Regions from separate parts of the Homo sapiens genome. Here all the other regions are linked to region 2. Evidence: promoter capture Hi-C in 16 types of primary human blood cells and fetal thymus (Javierre and others, 2016). All regions are on one chromosome and are shown on one strand. Each heading gives the region's core, a stretch centred on a gene start or on the middle of the fragment in contact. The rest is flanking DNA. Distances are from core to core; before and after follow the strand shown. Region 1 overlaps ZNF383 (zinc finger protein 383). Region 2 holds the start of ZNF283 (zinc finger protein 283). Region 3 holds the start of ZNF793 (zinc finger protein 793).

What was found. The method cuts DNA at HindIII sites, captures the fragments that hold promoters and counts their contacts. A CHiCAGO score of 5 or more calls a contact.
Region 1: a fragment that was not itself captured here is called in contact with the fragment with the promoter of ZNF283 in region 2 in 8 of 17 cell types (non-activated CD4 T cells, total CD4 T cells, naive CD8 T cells and 5 more); the score reaches 24.1 in non-activated CD4 T cells.
Region 3: the fragment with the promoter of ZNF793 here is called in contact with the fragment with the promoter of ZNF283 in region 2 in 1 of 17 cell types (non-activated CD4 T cells); the score reaches 5.7 in non-activated CD4 T cells.

The regions. Positions count from the first base shown.
Region 1 is chr19:37,235,822-37,239,169 of GRCh38, forward strand. It overlaps ZNF383 (zinc finger protein 383), which reads left to right. Exons shown (of 6, transcript NM_001387601.1): 5 at 158-253. Among named protein-coding and RNA genes, the nearest start is that of LINC01535, 14 kb to the right of the region's middle. The HindIII fragment of the contact is 3,665 bases long and covers 38-3,348 here.
Region 2 is chr19:43,825,540-43,828,626 of GRCh38, forward strand. It overlaps ZNF283 (zinc finger protein 283), which reads left to right and starts at 1,782. Exons shown (of 7, transcript NM_181845.2): 1 at 1,782-1,905; 2 at 2,663-2,742. RefSeq lists an enhancer at 1,640-1,839. The HindIII fragment of the contact is 6,325 bases long and covers 1-3,087 here.
Region 3 is chr19:37,505,360-37,508,322 of GRCh38, forward strand. It overlaps ZNF793 (zinc finger protein 793), which reads left to right and starts at 1,580. Exons shown (of 8, transcript NM_001013659.3): 1 at 1,580-1,607; 2 at 2,906-2,963. ZNF793-AS1 (ZNF793 antisense RNA 1) reads right to left here and starts at 1,728. Exons shown (of 3, transcript NR_110723.1): 1 at 1,480-1,728; 2 at 487-681. RefSeq lists enhancers at 498-1,289, 1,290-2,081, 1,647-1,796. The HindIII fragment of the contact is 7,284 bases long and covers 721-2,963 here.

The DNA.
Region 1 (3,348 bases), core at 620-3,119, 6.6 Mb before region 2:
GAGTGGGAAATTGGCAACTCCAGTGGGCTGTGGTTGAAGCTTCATCTTCATCTTTCTTTGGCTGTTCCTGTAGTGGCATCTCTTCCTGTGATCATCAAGGGACTGGATCTCCTTTACCCCCAGCATAACCATGTTCCATATCTTTTCTCGTGAGCAGGACTTTACACTCCTAAGCCTCAAGTGATCTCCTTATTGGAACAAGGGAAAGAGCCCTGGATGGTTGGCAGAGAGCTTACAAGAGGCCTGTGTTCAGGTAAGTGAGAAATGACCGGACAGGAGAAAGTCACGATAGGTCAGAACTCAGCTGGTCAGGGAGGAAACAGCACCTTTGAGATGTTATCCCTGAAGCTCCCATCAAGAAACTAGGCCAGTGGAGAAAATGAAGTCCTTTTAGCATAGTTGTTAAATAACCTGTTTCGCCCTTTTCCTCACTTACCACTATTTCTACTACTCCTCTCCAATCCTCCTCTTAATTTCAAGCAGAAGGTACCTTTTACTTCTCTAAAAAAAACCCTATTTTACCCGTATTTTAGATTCAGCTGCTTGCTAGCTTTTTTTACTCTCTCTCTTTTTTTTTCTTTTTTTTTAAAGGGTCTGGCTCTGTCACCCAGGCTAGAGTGCAGTGACATGATCATAACTTATTGTAGGCTCAAACTTCTGGGCTTAGGCAGTCTCCCTGCCTCAGCCTTCCAAGTGGCTGGGACCGTAGGCCTGTGCCACCATGCCTGGCTAATTCTTTTTCTTCTTCTGCATTTTTTTTTTTTTTTGAGACGGAGTCTCGCTCCGTCGCTCAGGCTGGAGTGCAGGGTGCGATCTTGGTTCACTGCAACCTCTGCCTCCCGGGTTCAGGCGATTCTTCTGCCTCAGCCTCCTGAGTAGCTGGGACTACAGGCGCATGCCACCATGCCCAGCTAATTTTTGTATTTTTAGTAGAGGTGGGGTTTCACCATATTGGCCAGGCTGTTCTTGAACTCCTGACCTCATGATCTACCCGCCTCAGCCTCCCAAAGTGCTGGGATTACAGGCATGAGCCACCGCGTCCGGCCCCTCTTCTGCATTTTTTAGACTTGTACAGGTGTTTTCTACTACCACTCCCCAAAATAATATAATTGCGTCTGTATACACACATGTGAACACACACACACACACACACACACACACACACACACACACAGAGACACACACACACACACCCCTTGCCCAAGTACTGGTCTTCATTATAGCTGCCTGTCAGTGACCTGTTTTATCAGACTGTCTTCAATGTTTCCTTTATGGAACGTTTTTTAATTTCCTGGTTTGTGTAAGGGAATCTTCCAGGTGCTACAGTTTACTAATTGTGTTACCTTTACAAATTCAAGGTCCAAAAGTGGTGCTAAAATATATACATATATGACTTCCACAAAGTAGAGTAGTATAAAAGAGAAATGAGATAAGGAGTTTAGCAGAAAGTCAAAGGCTAACTATGTAGAAGTGGAATTAATCCCTATTGAAGTAGTAGGTGGAGCCTTGGAAGTGACTGCAATCACTATGTATAGAGATATTGTTGGGGCCAAGAAAAAAAAAGGATCTGTGCCTATATTAAAAAGGAAGAGGTGGCAGAGCAGGAGAGATTTGGGATGAAGTAGGAGAACCAGAAGAGTACTTATTGAGCACTACTATGTACCAAGCATTGGTCCAAGGGCTGGGACTGTAGTATTCATGAAGGCATTCTAAAGTTCTGCACTTCTGAAGCCTACATTCTAGAGGGTAAGAGAGAAAATGTCTTAGTCCATTTTGTGCTGTTACAGCAGAATACCTCACATCGAGTAATTTATAAAGAACAGACATTTATTTTCTCATAGATCTGGAGGCTAAGAATTCTAAGATCAAGGCACTGTCATCTGATGAGGGCCTTCTTGCATCTTCGTGTGGCAGAAGGCAGTAGGGCAAGAGAGCCAACTCCTTCCATCAAGCCCCTTCGTAAGAGCACCGAAACCCATCCTTGAGGGATGGGTCCTTGAAGCCCGATCATCTCTTAAAGGCCTCACCTCTTCGTTTTTGGAATTTTTTTTTTTTTTTTGAGACAGGGTCTCACTCTGTCACCCAGGCTGGAGTGCAGCGGCACAATCATGGCTCACCACAGCCTCAACCTCCCGGGCTCAGGTGATCCTCCCACCTCAGCCTCCCGAGTAGCTCGGCCCACAGGCACACGTCACCACGCCCAGCTAATTTTTCTATTTTTTGTAGAGACAGGGTTTCGCCATGTTGCCCAGGCTGGTCTCTAACTCCTGGGTTCAAGCGATCCACCCACCTTGGCCTCCCAAAGTGCTAGGATTAAAGGCTTGAGCCACTGTGTCTGGCCCCCACCTCTTAATACTATCACATTGGCAACAGCTGAATTTTGAAGGAGAGACATTCAAACCATAGCAGAAGATAAACATGAATGTCAAGTATATATGTATAAAACAATATTAGCATGACATTAATATTATATGATATATAAATATTTTTAGAATTATATATCACTTACATTTATCTACATGTAACTAATATATTGGTATAGTATAAATATATATCATATATTAATAATATTTCTATATTATTATATGTCCATGTGTATATGAAATGTCAGGTGGTGGGTGATAGATAAGTGCTGTGAAGAGAGGCTAGAGAGGGCCTCTCTGATGAGGTGTTCTTTTAGTGAAGACTTGAAGGAAGTGAGGGAACAGGTAATGTAAATATCTGCTAGGAGAGATTCAGGCAAAGGGAACAGGAAGAGCCAAGTACTCGAGTTCAGAGCTTTTTGGCAGCCACCATTATGGCTGAAATTGAATGAGCAAAGCGGGAATTGTAGAAGAGGAGATCAGGAAAGTAGCAGGCTTATGAGTGTTTGCATGCTGGGTGCAGGTCAGGATGGGAGTTGGATGTACCTGTAGATGATTTTGGGTCTTGTGGACCTTGAATTTTACTCCGAATGAGGTGTAAATCCATTGAATGATTTAGCAGAGTGATATTATCATGTTTGCAAAGGATCATTCTTGCTCTAGGGGTTCCTAACTTTGGATTCCTTTAGGTAGAATTCAGGGAGTCCATGAACTTGGATGAGAAGAAAAAAATACATCTTTTTGGTTTTTTTTGAGACGGAGTCTCACTCTGTCACCCAGGCTTGAGTGCAGTGGTGTGATCTCAGCTCACTGTAGCCTCCACCCCGCAGGTTCAAGCGATTCTACTGCCTCAGCCTTCTGAGTAGCTGGGATTATAGGCGCCTGCCACTGCGCCCGGCTCATTTTTGTATTTTTAGTAGAGATGGGGTTTCACCATCTTTGCCAGGCTGGTCTTGAACTTGTGACCTCATGATCCACCTGCCTT
Region 2 (3,087 bases), core at 532-3,031:
GGCCAGGCTGGTCTTGAATTCTTGACTTCAGGTGATCCAGCTGCCTCAGCCTCCCAAAGTGCTGGGATTACAGGTGTGAACCACCATGCCCGGCCTGGAGACTATTATTCTAAGTGAAGCAACTCAGGAATGGAAAATCAAACATCGTATATTCTCACTCATAAGTGGGAGCTAAGGTGTGAGGATGCAAAGGCCTAAGAATGACACAGTGGACTTTGGGGACTTGGGGGAAAGGGTGGAAAGGGGGTGAGGGATAAAAGACTAAAAATTGGGTGCCATGTACACTGTTCAGGTGATGGGTGCACCAAAATCTCACAAATCACCACTGAAGAAGTTACTCATGTAACCAAACACCACCTGTTTCCCAAAAACCTATGGAAATAAAAAATTAAAAAAAAATCAGACCCCCAAAATATTCAGAGTAGTACTTGTGGGAGTCATTGAGCAAGTAACATGGGAAGAGAGGAGGCTGCTTCCACCAGTGGTTTTGGAGGTGGAGCAGATGCTGATGATAATGAAGTCCCAGATGGGAAACGGGGATGGGTGCCGAGGAAAGCTCAAGGACCCTGCAGATGAGGACTCAGACCCACGATACTGGATGAGGCATCCATGTCACCATGGGAGTCAACCAGGGTAGTGGCCTCAGCTGAGGCAGGGGAAAAGCTGGGATCCAAGAGCTCTAGTCTTCTCTTGATAAGCAAGAGAGACCAGGAGGTGAGAGATGGCAGAGGATGAGAGAGGTGATATCAGTGACCAGAAAGAGCCCCTAAAAAGTAACTTCCTTTTCTTTCTGTTAGTTTTAATATAAAATTTCGCTTTAATATTTTTAGACAATTCTTTTTTAAAAAAGTATTTATATCCAAAGGTTCTTACCACACCAACCACAGCCCCAATCTTTTTGCCCTAACCTCAGAATCAGTTAGTTGTCTCCTTTAAAACCTTTCTCTCTCTCACACACCCACACACACACACACGCAAACACACAGGAGAGAGAGAGAGGGAATATATAGTATTGTTTTTGGAGTATGAGTGTGTGCTTCAGAATAAATGGTTTCATACTCTATAAAAAATGAGATTCAAATTTTATAATCCATCAAGTTTTATTGGAACACAGCCATGCTGGATTGCTTGTGCATTGTTTATGGCCGCCTTTGCACTGCCATAAGTCTCCACGGTCACAATATCCACTCACTACCACTTATTGTTGTCTTTCAACAGCGGCATATAAAATCTGTAACACAGTTCATCTCACACCTAATAAAACAGACTCACACAGGCATAAATTTAGAAAACATCCCATGAACATAAACAGGTCCACGCAGGGTCCCAGACACCGAATCGAACTAAGAAACTCCCTCACAGCAAGACACACCCATCTGTTCAATTGCCAGACACTGTTCCAGGCGCTCATACCCAGGTAAACTGGTAGTGTCGCGCAGGTCATTTCCAGCGAACTTACCCCGGATTCCCTTGCTCGCTCACGTCTAAGTCCCCAGACACCCCAGTCCCATCTTCGCCTGTTCTAGACTCCAGAATGCGTTCCTTAGCGAAAGCTGAGAACCTTTTAATTCGCTCTCAGTCAACACCAAAGACCCTCAAGCAAAAGCAAGAGCTCCCGGGCGTCTTCGAAAAAAGCGCCTTTGACAGGTGAAGCCAAGTTGCATGCTGGGAGCATCCCTGCTGTCCAGGTTTCAACTTCCGGAGACTCTGCCGCTGTGGACTACATTTCCCAGAAGTCTCCGGGGCACAGGCCTTTTAGGGGCGGGGCGAGCTTGCCTGCCAGAAGCTCCTCTCCCAGCCTGCGAGCATTTCCAGGCTCTTGTTTCCCATCAGCCTCTGGGTCCAAACTAACCACAGGTCTCTGGGTCCTTTTCCGGTGTCCTTAAGGTTCTTGGACTCTGCATGGTGAGTTGGTCGTGTCTGTAGAAGTAATCAGCCCGGGTGAAGCTGGGAGGGCTCGGCTGGCTTTACTGGGGCCCGACTGGAACCGGCAGTGAGGGTGGGGGTGGCATCGGGGGTGCTGGAGGTGGGGAGGGCTGGGTCACGGACAGAGCGTGTCGTGTCCGGATCCTCAAGCCTGTGTGCACGCGAGCAGCCGAGGGACAGTGTGTCTCAGACGGCGTGGCAGGGACGGGGCGTGTCCCCACGGAGGTGGGTGCAGTTGTGAATGTGTGACGGGCTGACAGGGTGCGTGGCCGTATTTGTAAATGTGATTTGCTTTGACCAAATGCTCTAGGTTCCCTTTAGCCTGTCTTCGGGCCTGCCACAATTAAATGACCGCAAGAAAGAAGTCTATGCTAAGCCCCATAATGAACGTTTCAAGCAAGAAGGATGAGAATTTTAGATCTGGAAGTGTCCGCGGGACAGGATCTTGTCAAGACCTGATGGGGAAGTTCTAGAGGTGGGATTCCTAGAAGAGGGGCCTCTAGGAGCTCTTTGGTGGTGAGCTACATGTTTCAGAGCCATTGCAAGCAGACCTCTGTCCCCAAGAATTGCCCTCAACACAGAGACAGACTCTAGCCTCCCTTTTCATTCCGTTTGGTTTTGTGTGGATGAAGGCAGAAGTGGCCCCAGAGGGTGTTTTGCTCTTCTTTTTCTTTTTTAATTAAGTCTGTGACGCGCTAGAAATGCTGATGTCTCATGTTACTGTTTTTTCCCCCAGTGCTGCCAGGTTGCCAGATTTCTAAGAAGGAGTTTGAAGAGGAGAAAAGGATTTTTGCATGTTTAGAAATCAAGGTTCAGGTGAGGTTTTTTATACATACTTTTTAAATACATACACATACAATTACCTTTGCTTCTAGGTCATGAGAACATTTTCTTTCCTTGGCCTGAAATATCTTGACTGGGTTTTCCCAGTTACATGACCCGCCATGCTGGTACATATTTCCTCCCAGTGGCCCCCTATTGTTCTTCTCCACAATTCTTACCCACCTGTTCATATGGCAAATTGTTCAAATACTTCAGTGCATTATGATGCACTGAAGAGTTATAGAAAGGCACCTCTTGTAGATTGCTATTAGAGCATTATTTTATACTATGATTATTTGAAGAGATTAGTAATTAGGTGGTGTTATATAAACATTATTT
Region 3 (2,963 bases), core at 330-2,829, 6.3 Mb before region 2:
TCAAACTATTGGCAGGGGCTGCTGTCATCTCAAGGTTTGACTGGGGCTGGGAGATGTGCTTCCAAGGGTGATACACTTGGTTATAGGAAGGCCCCAGCTACTCCCAGGCTATTGGGTGGAGGGCTTAGTTCCTTGCTACCTGGGCCTCTCCATAGGCTGTCTCGGTATCCTCATGACATGGCAACTAACTTCTCTCAAAGTGGGGGCAGCAGCCTTTAAGACAGAACTCAAGGTGCCATTTATTATATTTAATCTCAGCAGTGACATCTATCACTGCTACTGCATTCTATTAGTCTCACAGTCCAACCCTGGTACAATGTGGGAGGGAACTACATAAGAGTGTGAATAGTAGGAGGTAGGAATCATTGGGAAACATTTTGAGGTCAGTTATTGTATCAGTTGCTAGGATGACCAGTTGGAATTAGGATTTTTTTAAAAAGCCATTTTCATAAGACAAGGCAATCTTTTCTAGAGATGTTCCAATACCTGTGATATGCGGAGCACTGCGCTAGGTGGTATTCAAGGCAGGCCTGTAGTGAATGCTGTTGGACCCAGCCACCACCCCTGAGCAATCATATGCAGACCGCTGGCTTCTTAACTGCAGACACCTACAGACTCAGCCTAAGACTTTCCCACGAGGCAGGCTCGAAGTGCTGGAGCTTTAACACCTCTGGAGTGGCCCTAAAACAATTAGGAAGAGAGATGGTGTAGACATATGTAAGCTTCATCGGCCTGGTGGTTGTGAAAACTTGGAAGTGGTTTCTACACAATCCCCCAGAGGTCCCAAGCTGACTGAGCCCTCATTGATCCAGAGCTAATCTGCTCACCTATGCACTGTATATTCGTTCCCATCGCTCCCGTCTCACTTCTCCATCCCCCACCTACCAAATAAACTGCTTGCACTCATTCTTTCCTCAGGTCGGCTTCTCGGGCAAGCCTCCTTAGGTAAAAACCTTGCTTTCAACATTTCCTTTCCATTATGCGCTAAGAACTCTGATCTCTTCCCGCTGCGGCAGCCCCGCCCTTTCCTTGCGGCTCCGCCCTTTCCGTGAAGTCACGCCCGTCCTTAGGCTGTCTCTGTCTCCCTAAGAGCGAGTCTCTTCGCTGCTCTCTAACTCCTAGAGCTGGCTCAGAAAGAGTTTCACATTGCCATAGGGGAGCTCCTAGGAGAGGCTGCACCCATTGCACGTAAGAAGCGGTAAAAATGTACGCGGCCATCTTACCAGGCTGCCGGAGACAAAGAAAGCTCAGCTTTGATGTCTGGGCGCCACCATGTTGGCCACAGGAGGTTTTGGCATCTGAGATGCTGAGTTAAGAGCAGAGACGACATCTCTGTTTAGGGATCCAGGGACACTTCCTTCTCCTTGTCCTAAAATAGCCTTATCTTTTGGTCTAGCAAAGGGCTTAATCATCCGTTTTACGGCACAGTTTTAAACATGGCCGCCCCAGGTAGGAGTCAAGTGGGCGTCGCCATCATACCTCCAATTACAGCTTTGAGAAACCCAGAATCCTGTTCACTGGAAGGTTGCCGGGTGGCGGCTGACAGCCTCAAAGTCGCAATTGAGTCTGCGCACCGGCCATTCAGGATGGGACGACCTTATACCGCGGTGAGGCGGCGTGGCAGGACGACCAATTTCAGATTCAGGGCGCGGATGCAGCATAAATGGGAAGGCACGGTTTGAGAAACGGTCAAACCTGGGACTAGTGGAGGATAGTGAGCTGCCGACTACGGTGGCCGACTGGGTCAGCTATGGGTGCCCGTGAGGGTCAATGACAAGGGAACTGAAGGGTTAAGAGATTCGGCGTCTGAGCCTCGCGGGGCCTCAGTGGTGGCGGACAGAGGTTTGCGGGAGTCAGTGGCACGGTCTCTGAAGAAGATGGATTGGGAGTGTGTGGGAATCAATAAATGCGAGTTCTGTGAAATGTCTTGATTTTCAGGGTGCATGGGGTCAGTAATAGTGGTCTTCATGGGTCTGGGGTCAGTTGGGATTTTTCAGACACTGGTTTAGAGATCTTTAAGGTTAATGATCGGAGCCCGAGAGGATCAGTGATCGGAGGTTCTAAGTTCTGTGGGCAGTAATAGTTTGGGTACTGGAATTGGTGATTGTGGAAACTTTGGGGTTCAAATGAGGGAGGTCAGTGGTGATGAATGTTTGGAGAAATGTTTTGGGCCATCGGTGATTGAGACTTACTTCATATCATCGGTGGAGGATCGGAGAGTATTAACGATTGGACTTTTGTAGATCAGGGAATGGAGAATAGAGTCAAGTGTGCTTATCTTAAAGGTACGCCTCAATGAGGCTCAGTGATTCGGACTGTCACTTGTGGGTGGGAGTGGGACTGTGAGAATCAACAATTGATCCTCAGTCGTTGGGATATCATTGGCAATCAGTGTGGATTCATGATTGGGGGCTGTGTAATTTCACTGGCAATCAGATCGGATCGGTGTTCTTTGTAGTTACTGACCTGTAGTCTCTCCTGGTCAGATTTGAACATAGGGGAATATCAGTGACTATGAAAACCTCTGAGGGTTGGAGATTGGAGGCCAGTGATTGGGGGCACTATGCGTGTCTGATTAGGAGACTTATAGGGGTTGGTGTTGAGGGTCCTGAAATGTGGAGATTGGGGATGGGAAAATCACAGATTTGAGGCTGCAAGCCTGCATAGCGGGAACACATTTCACTCAGGTGACACTCCCTAGCTGAATAGCAGCCAGTTCCTCTCCACCAAGGCCCATCTGAAAACTCTTTTTTGAACCCACACCCTTTTTATTGTTCTCTACAATAATGAAAATAATTTGAAAGGATCGCGTGCTAAACTTATCTAAAGTAACATGTTACTAAAGACGTGGCTTCTATTCTTGTTAGGGATCTAATGCATATTTTTTCCTAATGTTTCCTTTAAGGCTCTTTCTGGCAAAGGTAATGACATACGCATCTGTGCCAGCATCCCAAGAGTGAGGC